2 separate regions of the Homo sapiens genome follow, and region 2 is linked to region 1. Evidence: promoter capture Hi-C in 16 types of primary human blood cells and fetal thymus (Javierre and others, 2016). All regions are on one chromosome and are shown on one strand. Each heading gives the region's core, a stretch centred on a gene start or on the middle of the fragment in contact. The rest is flanking DNA. Distances are from core to core; before and after follow the strand shown. Region 1 holds the start of GPI (glucose-6-phosphate isomerase). Region 2 overlaps LSM14A (LSM14A mRNA processing body assembly factor).

Region 1 (2,843 bases), core at 146-2,645:
AGAGCGAGACTCCATCTCAAACAAACAAACAAACAAAAAAAGAACTCCAGTAGAACAGATACTGTTCAGCACTACCAGGGTTGTGCTAGGTGTGGAAGCTCAGTGAAATCTTAAGAGTTGACAGTTCTTAGAAAAGGGCCATGTGGACAGGGCTGTTCCCTGGAAAGTCCTGTGACCCCTCAGTGACCACTTATTTCTTTTGTTGTCAGCCTTTCCCTATTTTCTTTTCTTTTCTTTTCTTTTTTTTAAGACAAGGTGTTGCTGTGTCACCCAAGCTGGAGTACAGTGGTGGTAATCACGGCAGCCTCTAACTCCTGGACTCAAGTGATCCTCCTGCCTTGGCCTCCCGAGTAGCTGGGACTCTGCAGATATGCACCACCACATGCCCCGCTAATTTATTTTTAGTATTTTAGAAGCAGTGTTTTGCTGTCTTGCCCAGGCTCGGCTTGAACTCCTGGCGTCAAGCTATCCCACCTCCCAAAGTGCTGGGATTATAGGCAGGAGTGCCCAGCCCCAGAGTTCTTACAATGACTTACAAGGTCTTACGTGATCTTGTTGCCTCCCTTTTGCTCTCTGACCTCATCTTTTTTTTTTTTTTTGAGATGGAGTCTCACTCTGCCACCCAGGCTGGAGTACAGTGGCTCACTGCAGTCTTCACCTCCCAGGTTCAAGTGATTATCCTGCCTCAGCCTCCCGAGTTAGCTGGGAATACAGGCACGTGTCACCAGGCCCGGCTAATTTTTGCATTTTTTTTTTCAGTAGAGATGAGGTTTCACCAGGTTGGCCAGTCTGGTCTGGAACTCCTGGCCTCACATGATCCGCCTGCCTCGGCCTCCCAAAGTGATGAGATTACAGGCGTGAGCCACCGCGCCCGGCCTAGTCACTTTTTTCTTAATTGCAACCCCGATTCTCAGCACCCTTTTCATCTTGGTTTTCCTCAATAGCCCTTACCACCAGCAGACACACATCATCTGTTGTACTTGCTTATTTGGCACATATGTATCCACAGCGCCTAGAACACTGCCTGTAACGTGGAAGGTGTTCGATCTATAGAGTTTTGTCGAATGAATGAATGAAGCCGACTAGTGCACAGGGAGTGCAGCGGCGCGATGGTAGCTCTCTGCAGCCTCCAACACCTGGGCTCCAGTGATCCCCGGGCTCTGCCCACCCTCCCCACTGCCACTTCCGGGCAGAGGCCAGCAAAGCGGCGGCGCAAGAGGTAGGGAGAGAGGAGCTGAGGCCCCAGATCAGCGGCCGCGGGCAAGGTCGCTCAGCGGGCACCCGGCCTGGGTATCGGGGCGCGGGTCGGGGGCGGGGCCGGGGCTCAGGGGTGGGGCCGGGCCGGGCCGGGCCGGGCGCCTGCGCCATAAAGGCCGCCGCGCGCCCACGCGCCTCGCTTGCTGCGCGCTGCCGGCGCTCCTTCCTCCTCGGCTCGCGTCTCACTCAGTGTACCTTCTAGTCCCGCCATGGCCGCTCTCACCCGGGACCCCCAGTTCCAGAAGCTGCAGCAATGGTACCGCGAGCACCGCTCCGAGCTGAACCTGCGCCGCCTCTTCGATGCCAACAAGGACCGCTTCAACCACTTCAGGTGCGGGCGGGCCGGAGGCGGGGGCTGCCACGCGCGGCGCCCGGAACCGGGCACGCGGGCCTGGGGTCTGGAGGCGGGGGCAGCGGTGCCCGGGGACCCCAGTCCCCGACCTCCAGGCCACGGACTGGGGCCCAGGCCGAGTCCGCACTTCGTCCTTGGAGTCTCCTTGGAGTGCGTTCCTGGGGGCTTGCAGCCTCGCCGGGAGTCTCGGCCCCGGGTCTGCTTCGTTACGAGGAAAAACGGGCCCCTCCGTGGGGACATTTCCCCTCCTCCTCCCCGTGCAGCTCTGGCCATTTGAGCAGGGGCTCCTTTCGCAGTTGTGAAGAGAGGCCTTGGCTGACGCAGCAAGCGGGAAAGGGCTGTCCCTTTCCATCCGCTCCTGGCCACATGAGCTTGGGAGCGTCTGCAGGGCGGGCAGCCCGGGCGGGGGTGTTTGAGGGAGCTGGGTGGAAGGATGGAGACGTCGGGCGTGATTCCTGCAGAAGACACCTGTGCACGACCGGGAAGTGGGAAGGAGTGTTTGAGCAAATCATGGGCGGGAGTGCGGCCAAGGGAGCTCTGATCACTGATACTGGTGGAGGCGGGGGAGGGGAGCGACTGTGGCTCCGGGCTAGACGTCCCGATGGCCATCCCTGTCATCTGGATGGGTGCCTGAGTAACTTACGGCAGAAAGTGGAAGCCCTGGGAAGGGGTGGTCCCCCACTTCAGTCCGGGCTCCTCATCCAGGGTCTGCCTGCATCTACGGTCTGTGAGGATGGCTTCTTTCTCTGGGCTGCTGTTGCAGATCATCCTGGTGGGCCAGCAGGTGACAGACACCACCACTGTGCTGGGTGGCCGCGGCCCTTGTGGGGCGTGGGTCAGGGAGGATGTTTCTTCTGGGAACAGCTCCTGCTTAGGGCATGGCTCCCCGCTAGGGAGACCAGGGTGTGGTCAGCAGCATCTCCATCTTTCTGCAGCTTGACCCTCAACACCAACCATGGGCATATCCTGGTGGATTACTCCAAGAACCTGGTGACGGAGGACGTGATGCGGATGCTGGTGGACTTGGTAATGTTCTGCTTGGGGAGGCATAACTGGTAACCGACAGAGTGGTGGGTGAGCTGGGCTCCTGGGAGTCCCCAGGACCTTGAGTATCTTGAGTTCTTCCTCTCATTAGACCTCAGTCACCTCCTCTGTGCTGGTGAGGCACCTGTCCCTGGCTTAGGTTCTAAGCAGCATCCCAGGGACCCCAGTGTCTGATGTCTGAGTAGACCCT
Region 2 (2,843 bases), core at 166-2,665, 190 kb before region 1:
TTTACATCTCTAAATAATAGAGTTTAATTTTGCCCATTTTTAACTTTATGTAAATAGGATTGTGTTGTATATATTTTATTTTTAGCTTTTATTGTTTCATAATATTCCATCATGAATATAACACAAGTTTATTCCTTCTGCCATTGTTTTGGATATTGCATTTAGATTGTTTGCAGTTTGGGGCTATTATAAACAATGCTTTTATGAACATTTCTGTTTAAGTGCACTGGTGCATGTTTATTTCGTTTTCTTGAGATTATATACTTAGAATTTGAATTGCAAGAACATGGGGAATGTTGGTCTTTATCAGGTAATGCCAGGTAGTTTTTCAAAGTAGTTGTTTAGTGGTTTTTACTTCATTTATTAGTATGTAAGAGTTCTTGTTTCATATCCCTTACCAACAACCGTACGTGGTATCATATATTTCAATTCTAGCCAATCCTGGTGGGTATGTAGTTGTATTTAGTTTTAATCATTTCCCTCATTACTAAATGGGGCTGACCAGCTTTTCATATCTGGGTGTTTGGATTTCATTTTTCATAAAATGCCTTTGAAATCTTTTCCTTTTTTAAATCGAAACACGTCTTTTTCTAGAGTTCTGTATTCTGAATATATCTCCATTGTTGGATGTATATATTGCAAACATTTTTTCCATTTAGTAGTTTCTTTAAATTAACAGAAGTTCTTCATTTTAATGTAAACATGTTCATCAGTTTTTTATGGCTAGTGTTTCTTTTTTTAAAACATCATAGAGATACTTTGATTATCTTTAAACCTTTTTGTGCTTTGCTTTTTCACATTGACGTTTATAATGCATCTGAAATTGATTTTGTGTACAATGTGAGATATTCAGAGCTTTATATTTAGTAAGGGATTCACTTGGTTTATATTGTCCATATTATAATTTAGGGCTTGGATATTATAATTTAAATATATCTGGAACTATAAACTACTCTTGAAATTTTTGGCTATTTACATTTGATGTGGTATATAATTAGGGTAACCATATGGCCTAGTTTGCCCTGGTGGAAAGTCCTTGTTTGTGCCTGCTCTGGCATAATTATTAAAAACATCCCGGCTGGGCAGGGTGACTCAGGCCTGTAATCCCAACATTTCCAAAAGGTCAAGGCCGGGGTATTGCTTGAGCCCAGGAGTTCAAAACCAGCCTCGGCAATACAGGGAGACTCCATTTCTACAAAAAATTTTAAAAAGTGCATTAGCCAAGCATGGTGGCATGCATGTCTGTCGTCCCAGCCACTTGGGAGGCTGAGGCAGGGGGATTGCTTGAGCCCAAGAGGAGCTGTGATCATGCCACTGCACTCCAGCCTGAAACATAGAACAAGACCTTGTCTTAAAAAATAACAATGATAGCCTGTAATCCCAGCACTTCAGGAAGCTGAGGCAGGCGAATCACCTGAAGTCAGAAGCTCGAGACCAGTCTGGCCAACATGGCGAAACCCCGTCTCTACTAAAAATACAAAAATTATCTGGGCGTGCTGGTGCATGTCTGTAATCCCAGCTACTTGAGAGGCTGAGGCAGGAGAATTGCTTGAACCTGAAAGGCGGAGGTTAGAGTGAGCCAAGATCACACCACTGTACTCTAGCCTGGGCAACAGAGCGAGACTCTGTCTCAAAAAAAAAAAAAACACAAAATAATAATAATAATCTGTTTTCTCTTTTGAAAATGTTTCAGTGTGGATAAGTTATCACACCACATAATCAAAAGCCTAATTGCAGAGGTGCTGTGAAATGGTCGATGTGCCTTATTTTCTGCTAGAGATGTCACAGACTAGCTTTAGTTCTAGAAAGTGAAACAGGTAAGTTTGAGGGGCTTTGATCCTCGGAACCTAAGCATATGTCAAGAAGTCATAAAGGCAACCTAGAAAGGCTTTGATGTCAATCTGCTATGTATGTTTATAGATGATCTGTGTTGCAGTTTGTTTCTGCAGTTTGTTGCAGTTTGTAGTCTGTGTCACAGCTCTGAATTTATTTTCTTCTCAGCACTGATCATGACTTACACTTAATCTTCTTTGCTTATTTGCATATGTGTTTATTGTCTGTCTTCACCTTCCCCTTCACCTCCAGACTCTGAGCTCCTGGTATGAAAGGTTGTTTAGTTAGTGAGTAAATGGAAATGATTTAGCATTTTAGCTTATTGTTCTTGTAGAAGTATCTTGGGTATACCTCCAAATAATGCTTTTCCATGTTCACAATTGCATTTCCCTATAAAATTAAATTATCCTGCCTCACATTAAGAAATCTTGAAGAATTTCAGTGAGTAGGGATGCAAGAGGATGAAATCTAGTGACATAATTAACATTATTGGGGAGGTAAACTCTTTGTGACTCAAGCTCAATTATAATTTTCATTTAAAGTTTAAAGGAAGCCTCCATTCAGGGTGTAGGAAGAAATTACACAGTGGTGACATGTATGAATATTTTATGGAATAGTTCCAGTTGTGTTTGCACCTACGTCTATAAGTGAGTAGGATGCCTAAATAGGCTAAAATGAATGAAATTCTTATAAAAAATAAATTCTTACATTTAGTTAGCTTACCTGGATAATCATTCAAATGGAAACCAGGTTGCTACTGCACTGGGAAAAGAGACTTTATGAAGAACGATTATATAAGCCACTTGCCTTTAAAATAAGTTGTTCTTAAAATCAAGAGATTGGTGGAAGAATAGAAAAACAAGTAAATTGTTAACAGATTTCTTTAATCATCTGCTAAGTCTGGCTCATTGGCATAATTTATCTACTTCTTGATGTTAGTCACATAGTCATAAACTATTACCTTATTGGAGAGAGTGGAAGAGCTTTGTGTGATGGATAAAATACTTGCG

Evidence for each region. The method cuts DNA at HindIII sites, captures the fragments that hold promoters and counts their contacts. A CHiCAGO score of 5 or more calls a contact.
Region 2: a contact is called between a fragment that was not itself captured here and the fragment with the promoter of GPI in region 1, in 1 of 17 cell types (naive CD4 T cells). The highest score is 6.6, in naive CD4 T cells.

The regions. Positions count from the first base shown.
Region 1 is chr19:34,363,801-34,366,643 of GRCh38, forward strand. It overlaps GPI (glucose-6-phosphate isomerase), which reads left to right and starts at 1,396. Exons shown (of 18, transcript NM_000175.5): 1 at 1,396-1,588; 2 at 2,545-2,635. The coding sequence starts at 1,467. RefSeq lists an enhancer at 2,470-2,843. The HindIII fragment of the contact is 4,651 bases long and covers 1-2,843 here.
Region 2 is chr19:34,176,529-34,179,371 of GRCh38, forward strand. All of the region lies in intron 1 of LSM14A (LSM14A mRNA processing body assembly factor), which reads left to right. Among named protein-coding and RNA genes, the nearest start is that of LSM14A, 5.4 kb to the left of the region's middle. The HindIII fragment of the contact is 8,937 bases long and covers 1-2,843 here.